Regions from separate parts of the Homo sapiens genome. Here region 2 is linked to region 1. The links are contacts of gene promoters, found by promoter capture Hi-C in human tissues and cell types (Jung and others, 2019). All regions are on one chromosome and are shown on one strand. Each heading gives the region's core, a stretch centred on a gene start or on the middle of the fragment in contact. The rest is flanking DNA. Distances are from core to core; before and after follow the strand shown.

The links. The method cuts DNA at HindIII sites, captures the fragments that hold promoters and counts their contacts. A contact is called where the count stands out against the background at its distance.
Region 2: a fragment that was not itself captured here is called in contact with the fragment with the promoter of SGPL1 in region 1 in 1 of the 25 tissues and cell types used here (bladder).

Annotation. Positions count from the first base shown.
Region 1 is chr10:70,813,097-70,819,592 of GRCh38, forward strand. It overlaps SGPL1 (sphingosine-1-phosphate lyase 1), which reads left to right and starts at 2,852. Exons shown (of 15, transcript NM_003901.4): 1 at 2,852-3,030; 2 at 3,715-3,784. The coding sequence starts at 3,758. RefSeq lists silencers at 2,648-2,967, 2,988-3,077, 3,158-3,267. The HindIII fragment of the contact is 13,423 bases long and covers 1-6,496 here.
Region 2 is chr10:70,873,799-70,880,294 of GRCh38, forward strand. SGPL1 (sphingosine-1-phosphate lyase 1) reads left to right here. Exons shown (of 15, transcript NM_003901.4): 13 at 1,604-1,750; 14 at 2,743-2,863; 15 at 3,397-6,496. The coding sequence ends at 3,537. Among named protein-coding and RNA genes, the nearest start is that of PCBD1, 12 kb to the right of the region's middle. The HindIII fragment of the contact is 9,714 bases long and covers 1-6,111 here.

The DNA of each region.
Region 1 (6,496 bases), core at 1,602-4,101:
AGGCACAAGCACTGCAGGGAGATCCTCCTAGCCTAAATTAAAGAAGCCACAGAGGGAAAAAATCCCAGACCATCTTGCTCCACACCTCCCTCCCCCGTCCCAAGCCTTCCGTCATCTGCGGGAATTTCAGTGCCTCACTGACACCTGAATGACAATCTTTTGTCATCCTGGAAGGCACCATGATGGTACCAAAGGACAACTGGGGAGCATTGGTTCCCTCCCCAGCCCCAAACAAACACGTTCTTCATCAGCCTCCTTAAGCCATCCCAAACAACCCACACGCTTAATACAACTATCGTGCCTTCTATCCGGGCAAAGTGCCATGTGTCTGTAGACACAGCTACTCAGGAGGCTGAGACAGGAGGATCGCTCGAGCCCAGGAGTTTGAGGCTGTAGTGAGCTATGATAATGGCTGTAAATAGCCACTACACTCCAGCCTGGGCAACATTATTGAGACCATGTTTCTAAATAAGCAAACAAAAATTGTGCTTTCTCTGCAAACAGAGTGTCTAGGGAAGTGCTTTTTACTTTCTTGTGCATTAAGATCATCTGGGGACCTTGTTAAGCTGTAGATTCTGATTCAGGAGGTCTGGAGTGGGGCCCCAAGAACCTGTATTTATAACAAGCTCTCAGGTAAAGCCAATGCTGCTCTCAGGGAAACCACACTTTCAGAATGGAAGTTCCAGATAGCCCTCCTCTGCCTCTGACCAGCCAGCTATGTGCCTGCTAACGTCATTCTGCTGTCAGAGGGAGTGTGGGGTAGGAGAGCAGGGTGGTCTGAAGTCTTTCTCTCTCTCTTTCTCTCTCTCTCTCTCTCTCACACACACACACACACACACACACACACACACACACACACACACAGGGCTTCATCGGCTCAGAGAGTTGCAAACCCAGACCCATGTTCTAGGCTGGGCTCTGCCAGGAACTGCTAGGAGTCGCATCTCTCTCTGGACCTCAGTTTCTTCACGTGTATTTGTGTATTCTCTGGGGTGGAGCTGGCGAATAGCTGGAGACCCCTCTAGCCCTACCATTTTTTGATTCTAATTAACCAAAAAGGATATTCGAGGTCCCCGCTACAAATTCTGAACCCTTGGCTTCCCCTCCAAACTCCCACACAAACTCCACCCCATCCTGCCTGTGTGTCTTTGGGAGGATCATTTCCTTCTTTGGTCTTGGTGTCCTTGTTTACAGGTTGAGGGATGATAAGAGTCACCTGATCTGGGCAAGTCAGGCCATAAATAAGGCTTGTATGTAAAGGTGCCTAGCATAGTTCTTGGCAAAGCAAGGATCAGTCGATATGATTGCATTGGTTTGAGCATCTGGGAAGAATGAGCAGACTGCATACTGTGTGTTAGGGTGTAGGGAGGAATCAGACGTGACCCTGCCCTCTAGTCATCTGGGTGCACAGATTCTAGATTAAAGGATGTGGGGGTGGTAACTAACAAGGAGATGGAGAGGAGGTGTGCAGTTCCTGGGGGATCTGATGAAGAATTAAAGCAGAAGGGTAGGAGATGGAGAATGGGAAGGCATACCTGAAACCCTAAAGCAACTCTTGATGAGTAGGCATTGGCAGGAGGCCCCAGAACATTTTCTGACCCTCAAACACTGAGAATGCATGTCTGCTGGGGAATAGTAGTGAGGGGGCTAAGGGTATGGGGGTGTTCATGCCTGAGTCAGGGGCTCTGGATGGTAGAAATGTCTGGGAGTTCTGACGGAATGGGGGTGAGGAGGCCTAAAGATAACCTGTTCATAGTCTTTCAGGGCCTTAACCATTATGGCTGGGGAAGTGGGAAGTGCCGATGGGGTATGCAGAGGAGGGCAGCTGTGATAGTACATTTCATCCTGAAAGCACTACATGTGGATAATGACGGTAGTGATGATGCCCTAATTTTAGTGTCATGGCAACATTTTCCAAGGGGATGGAATTGGGTACCCTCATTAGTGTCATTTTTGTTTGAGAGATTTCAAGAGTCTATCTAGGTGTCATTTTAAAATCTATTGAAAAAAAATCTTGAATGCAGGTCACTGACCAGTTGGTTCCATGTAACTGCACTGCCTTCTGCTACCACTAAAGCAATGTTATGACAACCTGGACAAGTCATGGGAAACCTATGTGAGACTTAGTTTTTTCTTTTTCTTTTTGGAGTTGGGGGTCTCACTATGTTGCTCAGGCTGATCTAGAGCTCCTGGGCTCAGACAACCCTCCCGCCTCAGCATCCCCAAGTGCCGGGATTACCGATGTAAGCCACTACACCCAGCTGAGACTTAGTTTTTTCATCTGGAAATGAAGGCGACCTTTGTGATCCCAGTGGGCCCTTGCACTTGTGTATAAGGTGATTCCCAGCACTGCTCATGAAAGTAGTGATGGCAGAGTAGCCTCTGCTCTCCATTTTATTTTTGGGGTGGGGGGGGGCAGTGGTGGAGGGGAGGATGAGGATGATATTTCCATTAAATAAGTTTCCTTGTTGCTTTTCTTCAGGCACCACTGACCTCGATGGAAAAATGAAGTCCCTGGCCCAGGAAAGAGACCCAACTCTGTGGCTGTTTTGGATTAGTTTGTACAATGCCCTGCAGACCTACTCTCTCAGGAGGCTCCAAGTGACCAAATGTGACAAGAAAGTTTTTTGTCCAAGGCAGTTTGGAAGAGAAGTTGGTGACCGTCGGGATACCACAGCCGCCCCAGGACGGCCTGGTTGAGACATTCACTGGAGGGTCTGGGTGCAGCCCGCTGCCTGGCCGGTAGGCGGCGCGCACAGGCCGTGGGGCCCGGGTCTGGGCGTGCGCGCGGCTGGTAGCAGCGGGGCCGCGCACGCCAGGGTCCGGGAGCCGGGCCGGTGCCCCCGGAGCCATTTCCGGGAGGGGCGAGGCCGGCGGCTGCCGGGCCTCCAATCTCGGCGGCGGCGGCGGCAACAGGGGAGCCTGGGTCTCGCGGCCTGCGAGTCCGTCGCGTGCTGAGGGAGACGCAGGAGGTGGAGCCGGCCGGGTGCTCGAGGGAAGGAGACTGGAAGCTGGTTCCGGCGTGAGGAGGTGGAGGGGCCGCCGCGGGCTCCGGGGGGCGGTGAGGGTCGGGACGGAGGCGCCGCGGGGTGAGGAGAGGACAGGGGCCGGGTGGGCCGAGGGCGGGCAGAGGCGGCGGGGCGGCTGCGGCCGGGGCGGGGGCGGGGGCGGGCTGAAGGCGTGGGCACCAGCCGCTGAGGTCCAAGCAAGTGGACGGCGGGCGGGCGCGGGGCCGCGGTGGGGCGGGTCTGGAGCCCACGCCTGCCGCGGGGTAGGCATGGGCGGCCAGGATTTGCTGGTCCTCCGACGGGAGGGGTGACAACGAGAGCGAGGCCGTGCTGATTCTGAAGGGAGTGCGGAGGAGGCAGGACCCTGGTAGCCTCGGCACCTTCAGCCCGGGTTAGGTGGCCTGGGCTGGGCTCCCCACCCCGATCGCGCGCAGACGGGGCGTTTCCCCTAGTTTCCACCTGGGTGGAATGCTTTGTGGGAGTCTGGGTCTGGATTAGTTTCATCAGCTGTGGGAGGGAAACCTAGTTGCAGCAGGATTTTGATTCGCTGGTCTGGGGTGCTAGGGGTGGACTGTGATATCTGGGAATGAAATCTGAGCCTTCAAAGGAGGGAGAGAACCATAACTTGGCTGCTCTGGCGAATCTAGGCGGGCTGGCGAGACAGTTTAAAGCTCTAGAAGTAAACAAACCTGGTTCCCTTTTACAGAGTCTGAAAAAGGGGAGCGCGGAGAGGAGGCTGGAAGAGGAAGATGCCTAGCACAGACCTTCTGATGTTGGTGAGCCTTTTGCAGACATCCTCCTGGTTCCAAGGCATTTGTCTCCGTTTTTTTAGTCCAAAGGATCCCAGTGTGTAGATTTCACCTCTGATGCTTGCTTTTGGTAGCTGAGCGTTTTGCCACCTTTTATTTTGTTTTGTTTTGTTTTGTTTTTTTGGAGACGGAGTCTCACTCTGTTGCCCAGACTGGGGTGCAGTGGCATGATCTCGGCTCACCGCCACCTCTGCCTCCTGGGTTCAAGCGATTCTCCTGCCTCAGCCTCCTGAGTAGCTGGGATTACAGGCGCACGCCACCACGCCCGGCTAATTTTTGTATTTTTAGTAGAGACGGGGTTCTCCATGTTGGCCAGGCTGGCCTTGAACTCCTGACCTGTGGTGATCCACCCGCCTTGGCCTCCCGAAGTGCTGGGATTCCAGGCGTGAGCCACCGCGCCTGGCCAACCACCTTTTATTTTGGATGAATGATCAGGATGAATAAATAGCTGAATTAAATACATCAATACAGTATATGTAGAACTTAAATTATTGAAGAATCTTTTTCAAAATTATTATTATTTTTTTTAAATGAGACAAGGTCTTGCTATGTTCCTCAGACCGGAGTGCAGTGGCTATTTACAGGCATAATCATAGCTCACTGTAGCCTGGAACTCCCACTTCAAGTGATCCTCTTGCTTCAGCCTCTGGAGTAGCTAGGACTAGGAGCACAGGTCACCTCTCCTGGCTTTCTTTTTCATAATTCTTGCAGTTTTAATCCCTCCCTTCCCGTACTACCAGAGCAGTTTTGAAACCTCTATTATTACGTTTTATCAGGGTCTGCCATATACTAGTTTATCTGAGTGTTTGTCTTCCAGATTAGAGTTATGGTTCCTCGACAGGCAGATAATCATGTCTTCTTTGTTTAGAGATGAATAAACACCTAGCATGGTGCTCTGAATATAGTATGTGCTTAACAAATGCTTGTTGGATTGAACCAGTATGAATTTAAGTTCTTTTGTTGGACAGAGAGGTATGCCTGCTTTAGAGCTGTTTCCTCTCCTCCTGAGATCTTTCTGTGCTGTTTTACTGAGCAGGGAAGAATAGCGTTGCTAAATGCATGTTTACCAAAATGACATTTTATTTTTGGGACTTTTATGATTCCTTATGGACTTCTTAGTGTGAGAATTATGGAGAGTTTATAGCTTTGAAATGGTGGTATAGAAAAAGTGTCCGGGTTTAGTTTTTTTTGTTTCGTTTTGTTTTGTTTTGTTTGTTTGTTTTTGAGATGGAGTTTAGCTCTTGTCTCCCAGGCTGGAGTGCAATGGCACAATCTCAGCTCATTGCAACCTTTGCCTCCCGGGTTCAAGCGATTCTCCTGCCTCAGCCTCCCGGGTAGCTGGGATTATAGGTGCACACCACCATGCCTGGGTAATTTTTGTTTTTTAATAGAGATGGGGTTTCGCCGTGTTAGCCAGGCTGGTCTCAAACTCCTAACCTCAGGTGATCCACCTGCCTTGGTCTCCCAAAGTGCTGGGATTACTTACAGGCGTGAGCCGCCGTGTCCAGCCAAGTTTGTTTGTTTGTTTGTTTTTGTCACTTCTCTGAGTGCAAAATCAGTGCTTTAAAAACAATTCATTTCTCTCTCTTTATCTCACTATCCCAGAGGGTGGGTTGGCGTCACTGGGAAACTGGCAAAAACTGGTAGTGAGATTTCCTTATACTGGGTGCTGACATCGTAGTGGCATAACCTGTAAGGTCTGCAGGGGGGCTAAAGAAGAGAGAAACTAAGTTTTGATCCATTGTGATTTGAGGCAGGGATCTAGGATAATTTTAGGTTGTATGTGAGAGACATAGATGAATACTTAGGTTATCCGCAGATCCCAATGAAAAGTTCATCTAAAATAGTATCTTGCCCCAAATTTCATGGATTTTTCAGTTTTAATTAATACCCTTATATAACTTAAAATTCTTATTCAAAGACCATTATGTTAGAAATACTGGAAACTATAAGTAAGCAAAAGGAAAGGGGATTTGTTAATCTCCCCTATCTCCTACATCCCCTTCATTCGCCTCTACCCCGTGCAGTAATTTATCACCCAGAAATAACCGCTGTGAGCATCTTGGATGGTTAATGCAGAGTGACTTGTAGCAATTGACAGTTTCTGTTTATCCTCTTACAGAAGGATATGTTTATGTAAATTATAGGTTCTTATATGTAAGATATTTCCCCATGCACAGAGATATGGTTATTACTTATAGGGCCTATGCATTTACTTTAACAGAACAATGACTGCTTTTACTCGGAATATTAACTTTGGAATCAGTTTTCTTTTGAGGTATTTCTCTAGCTGTTGCCACCACCTTTCACCTCCTCACCTGTTAATTTAGAATGTTTAGGAGTGTTGCTTTGCTTGTTGCTGTAAGGAATTAATCCACATAGATGCGAGTGGCCCTAGGCAGTCATCACTTTCTGAAGACAACATACATGTTGCATGAAGTGCTTTCACTGGAAAAGTTGTCATTCATTCCTTGACTGTAATGTATAATGCTATTTGGAACTAACTGGTAAAGAACCAATAACCATGGCTGGGTTTTCAGTGGCACACTAACCCATCATTCTATGAGGTGTTTCTCAAGCTACTTTATATGATATGTAAAACATGTTCTTGGCCCTCCACCTGGGAAGAAAGGACCTAAGTGAATAAAAAAATAACCTCAGTGCAGTGCAGCATCTCAG
Region 2 (6,496 bases), core at 5-2,504, 59 kb after region 1:
TTGAGACGGGGGCCTCATTTGTAGTTTATCTCATCTCTATGGATGTCTTAATAACTGGCAGCTCTTACCCTAAGGCTAATGTACAATTTAATGGTTAGGACAGTGATTCCCAAACTTGAGCATGCATTCTAATCACCTGAAGGACTTGTTAAAACACAGGTAGCTGGGCCCACCCCTAGAGTTTCTGATTCAGTGGAACTGGGATGGGCTCTAAAAATTTCCATTTCTGGAGATACTGATGCTACTGCTCCAGGAATCATACTTGAAGAATCATTGGAATAAGAAAATAATTGGAAATGGGCCAGAAGGAATGAGGAAAGGAGGGCAATGAAATCTTGGGTTAAGCCAAGGCCAGAACAGGCTGCATGCTTTGTCTAATGTATCTGTTAACATCTTATCTGCCCATCTCTCTATGTGTCACTTGGATTGGGGAGGCTCTTTAAGTATATTGAGGGGGAAGGAAAGCTGCCTGCAGGCATTTCTCATTTGAGAAAGATCCTTGGCCAGGCACGGTGGCTCCGGCCTGTAATCCCAGCACTTTGGGAGGCCAAGGCAAAAGGATCGCTTCAGCTCAGGAATTAAAGACCAACCGGAGCAACATAGTGAGACATTATCTCTACAACAAATTTAAAAATTAGCCATGAGGCCGGGCGCGGTGACTCATCCCTGTAATCCCAGCACTTTGGGAGGCTGAGGCGGGTGGATCACCTGAGGTCCAGAGTTCAAGACCAGCCTGACCAACAGGGAGAACCCCGTCTCTACTAAAAATACAAAATTAGCCGGGCGTGGTGGCGCATGCCTGTAATCCCAGCTACTCAGGAGGCTGAGGCAGGAGAATTGCTTGAACCCGGGAGGCAGAGGTTGCGGTGAGTTGAGATGGCACCATTGCACTCAAGCCTGGGCAACAAGAACGAAACTCCATCTCAAAAATAAAAAATAAATAAAAATAAAAATTAGCCACATGTGGTGGTGTGCACCTTTGGTCCCAGCTACACAGGAGGCTTAAGGCAAGAGGACTGCTTGAACAGCCCAGGAATTTGAGGTTACAGTGAGCTATGATCACACCACTGCACTCTAGCCTGGGTGACAGAGCAAGACCCTGTCTCAAATAAATAAGCAAACAAATAAATAAAAATTAGATATATATAAAAGGTCCTCCTATAGCTCTGATAGGGCCATTTATTAAGACCTGCTATACCATTTCTTGCTTTAGGGATTACATATGACTTTTTAGAACTGTGGAGATGGGCAGATTACTTTTCCAGAAATTTTTTTAGTACATCTTTCATGCCTCAGAAGCATCTAGGGGAATATAATTGGGAGTTGGGTAGACAGGTTCGAAGTCAGTGATTGAGTCATTAGATCTAGATGGGGTTTGGGCCTTGGAATTCCATTTTTATTGTTCCATCTATGATTCTGATCTCAGTAAGAACCACTGATCCAGTGTAGCCCTCTTCTTTTTTGAAGATGAGAAGACTAAAGCCCAAAGGGTTAGATTGCATTCATTATAAGGAAGACTTTGAATGATTAAAGAGATAGTGACCAGGGGATTGTATGTGACTGAATTTACTTTTTCTTCCTTCATTTATTTTTTTGTTTTAAGACTGGAAAATATCAAAGGCATCTTTGTTTTTGGGAATCCCCAATTGTCAGTCATTGCTCTGGGATCCCGTGATTTTGACATCTACCGACTATCAAACCTGATGACTGCTAAGGGGTGGAACTTGAACCAGTTGCAGTTCCCACCCAGGTAAGCTTGAAGAAGCCTCTTTCCCTTATTTTGCTCCATGATTTTGGAAGAACTTGGGTGGTACAGTAACCTGAAGTATAGAGTTTGACTGCTAGAGGCTAGCACGTTAGTAGCAACTGTAGTATATAAAGGATTTCTCTCTTGCCACCTGGAATTATTAGATACAAAGAACAAGACCATTAGCTTTAAACTCTGGCAGAATTAGGTGACAGCCTCCTAGACCAGTGGTTGGTCATGAGGTTTTTCTCTCAGTCTCTAGCCTTTCTACTCTCCAATCCATCTTGTACACAGCCATCAAATTGCTCTTATAAAATACTTGTTACCTGGCTAATATTTAGTTCAAGATCTTCCTGGGGGTCTCTAATCATTCAGGCCTGCTACTGCCTTCTTTATTAGACTTTTCTAACCTAATCTTCCATGATGCCTTTGAGTAAATGCACCACTCCAACTGAGTACAGGTCTGTTCATGTCCTCTGTGTACAGCTTAGCCTTCCACACGTTGGTGCATTGCCAGTCCCATCTGGACTATCTTTTTCCCTCTTCACAATTCCAGTAAACCCCACTAAATTCCTCCAGGGCGAGGTAGAATTTCTTCTGTGCCCTGAAGTCCTTTAAGACCCCAGCCATGTGGCCCTGTCCCCATGAGAGCACATGGGGGCTGATTATCTAAGATAAAAGTGTCTCATTGATGGTGACGTGGTTGAAGGAATGGTGGTGGAATTTGTGAGGGGATGGGTGGGACAAAGCAGCCAACACTGTTCATCCTCTTAGCATGGTTCTCAGTCATGCCGAGAAGCTCTGAGGCCAGCCCATGCCTGACACCCCAAGCATGAGAGAGCCGAGATTCCCAGGACTAGGAACAACTTGGATGACTACACTTGTCAGAAATATTGTGAAAGGGCAACCAGGAAATTCCCGTATTTGGGGCTGCATCATTTTAGAACATTTTTTCTTTCTTCAAGGTTCATCTCTCTCTGTCTCTTCTTTCCTAGTATTCATTTCTGCATCACATTACTACACGCCCGGAAACGAGTAGCTATACAATTCCTAAAGGACATTCGAGAATCTGTCACTCAAATCATGAAGAATCCTAAAGCGAAGACCACAGGAATGGTAGGGACACTTGGAGTTTTTTTTCTTCTCTTGGAAATTTAGGTGTTGGTGGAGAGTTTGAAGGAATCATATGACCCGGAGTCTGTTCCTGCCTCTGCCCCTTTGCCACAGACATCTTTTATTTGTTGACTGGAGCTGATGATCTCTGCATCACCCACCCCTTAGGGTTGCTGAAGTCTCAAATGAGATACACTATAAAGTACCTTGTAAGTTAGAGACTTCTGTATAAAAGCAGCTGGTGGTAGTGTCCATTTGAAAAGAAAATTTTGTCACAGGAAAGATAGTAAACATGTTTTTTCTGGAATTTTCTTAGGCTAGTCCCTTTATGCAGAAAGGCAGACTGGAAAGTCCCTGTGAAAAATTGACTATGCCAGCTGTTTTTCTGATAGAATGATGGGATGCCTTAGGTGGAAATGGGGTAGGGCAGTGCACATGCGAAGCTAGGACTCGGGGAGAAGGGGCTCATTGCTGCAGTTTTATTCTTGCTTTTGGACCTGGCCTCACTAATAATGTCTCTTTCTTTGGATTTGTAGGGTGCCATCTATGGCATGGCCCAGACAACTGTTGACAGGAATATGGTTGCAGAATTGTCCTCAGTCTTCTTGGACAGCTTGTACAGCACCGACACTGTCACCCAGGGCAGCCAGATGAATGGTTCTCCAAAACCCCACTGAACTTGGACCCTTTCTAGTCTCAAGGGGATTCCAGCCTTCAGAAGGTTCTTGGGATATGGAACAGGCCGTGCACAACTTTGACATCTGGTCTTGCTCCATAGAGCACAACTCAAGATAGACCATGAGACAGCTTGAGCCTCAGGATTCTTGTTCTTCCTCTTATCTTCCTTTTGTGGTTTTTAATTTGAAGACCCCAGAGAATTCCATTACATAATGATTTTGCCCTTGTTATAAATGTTACCCTAGGAATTGTTTTAACCATTTCCTTTTCTAAACTCTCTAGCTTTCAACTTTACTTAAACATTGTGTGGTAGCTCTGACCTGTCCTGATTCTTTAGAGAAGCTGGGGTACAGTTTATGAGATAGCTAGAGCTTCTTTGTTATCTCAGGCAGGAGGCGTTTACATAACAGATGTTTCCTCAGCTGGGTGTGAGGTATACTCTAAGCAGGAGGCTTTTTCAGCCTTCTCTCTCTTTTTTTTTTTTTTTTTTTTTTTTGAGATGGAATTTTGCTCTTTTGCCCAGTCTGGAGTGCAGTGGCATGATCTCAGCTCACTGCAACCTCCACCCACTGGGTTCAAGCGATTCTTCTGCCTCAGCCTCCCGAGTAGCTGGGATTACCGGCACCCACCACCACGCCTGGCTAATTTTTCAATTTTCTTTTTCAGTAGAGACGGGTTCACCGTGTTGGCCAGGCTGGTCTTGAACTCCTGACCTCAGGTGATACCCGCCCCCCCGCCTCAGCCTCCCAAAGTGCTGGGATTACAGGCGTGAGCCACCGTGCCTGGCCCTGTCTCTCTTAAGAGTAGGTTCATTGTCTGTCTTAGAGTCACTTCTATTGCAACTCATTTTCTTTTTCCAGGGCACAGATCGACCAAGCTGCCGTTCCCTATTCTGCAGGACAGGACTATTCTAGCATACCTGCTTCGTCCACCCAGGCAGGGTTTGGGGTGGTCTCTTCTGTGCCTGCAGTCCCCATTTGACACTTGGTTGCCACCATCTTTGGAGATTATTGTTTGGAATGATGCTTCCATTGGCTTTTTCTTGTTACCATGGACTAGGAAGAAAACATGGTTTCCAAATAATCTGGGAGCTTTTGGCCATGGTGCCGCCTTCCTGAATTGGCAGTGGTCAGAGCACACCTGAACCCTATCCTGGGCTGGTGATGAGCAGAAATCAGACCTTTTTCTATGCTTTTTTGAATATCAGAGTAGGATGAACACCCAGATTCAAATATGTCACCAAAGTTGGTGGTGGTCCTTCCCTGCACCCTTGCGTTAAGCCATTATGTAATGAAAATGTGTTTGCTTGAAGGAACAGCTCAAAGCACCTTCACAAGTTGCCTTGACTTACCCTAGGTGGGTGTGAAAGAGCACCCGTAGCAAGGAAAATTTTCTCTATTAGTGTGTTCTTCTGCCTCTTCCCCCTTGATTCAGCTTTCAGAGGTACTATGGCAGTTTTGCCTCAGGTGCTGAACATTTCTCAGCCCTGGCTAAAAGGGAGCAGCACAGGGAGAGAAACAGGATAGGAAAGCAGAATGGCGAGCAGCCTATGGCCCAGGGCCTGTAATCCCTTCCCAAGACTAGCTGCTCAGGGTGGTGCAGGGACAGGACCAGACCCTGCGCCTATTTCCTGCCTTCTTTCCCCTATAGGGAACTCTGTAGGCTGAGCCACTGTCCTGCTCTTATGACATTATATCTTGTGCCTTTCTCCTCAGCAGTGAGCAGTGAGCTACTCCTGGCCCAGGCCCTAGGGGAAATGGATCAGTCTTTGAGGTTTCTATTTGGGGAGGGGAGTACTTAAGATGAGTCAAAAGACACTTTCCTCTGTTCCATTCCCCATCTCAGGGACTCCTGAATATTCAGCCTCTCCAGGCTGGTGTCTTCTAGTTTCCCCCACTGGGAATGCTGGCTGGGAGAGCCATGACTACCAGACTTTTCCTCAGGCTCCTTGGCATGTTAGTCTGAATTGTTCTTGAGCACTGTACTACTGACCCAACAACTGTGACTAGCTGGCCACGCCATTCAGGGCTGGTGTGGCATTTATGTGTGTGTGTGTGTGTGTGTGTGTTTTTCCTGTTTGCCCAGCAGTGCATTGTGGGTTCCAAGAGTGGGTAGTGTGTGTATGTGTGTGTGTCAGAGGGAGACCTGGCAGGCACCTCTTTGAGAGTAGCTGTGGTCAGAGCTGTTTGGTCAGTGCATTATGTTGAATGAGGTCCAGGAACCCAGAGCCACCCAGCAGACACCACTGTGGCTTGCCAGCTGCCAAGATGGAGAAGCATGTGCCCCTGTAGAGCGTCTCCCCAGAACCAGACCCCGAGCCACTCGCTTCCTCTGTGCTGTGACAACATTGGTGCCAGGGGAGATGGTGTTTTTCAAAGGGACCTACTGTAGCCACTTTAATTTACAATTAAGAGCCTTAGTTTGACTTAACACTTTTGTAGGCTTTTCATTGTGTATTTTTGTGTATGTGTGCATATAGCAGCTACTCTGTAGCAGAGGTGGGTAGAGACACTTAATAGTATCATGTCGCATGCAGATGTCACATCGGCCTCTGCAAAAACTGTACTGTCTTGTTTCTGCATTAGACTTAAGTAGTCATGTGAATATACTGCTATGTCACTTTTAATATTACGAGTTTTATACTTGGAAAATGGTACTTGCTTCTTTTAAATCTCTGTCTTCTCTAACCTCCCCCTTCCCATTTCAATGCTCCCTTCCTAATTTCAGCAATAATCTCAAAAAGCAATTAAATAGTTAAATGACCCTAATTGTAATTACTGTGGATGGTTGCATTCATTTGATTACTTGGGCACACACGAGATGACAAATGGGGCAGTGGCCATGCTTGAATGGGCTCCTGGTGAGAGATTGCCCCCTGGTGGTGAAACAATCGTGTGTGCCCACTGATACCAAGACCAATGAAAGAGACACAGTTAAGCAGCAATCCATCTCATTTCC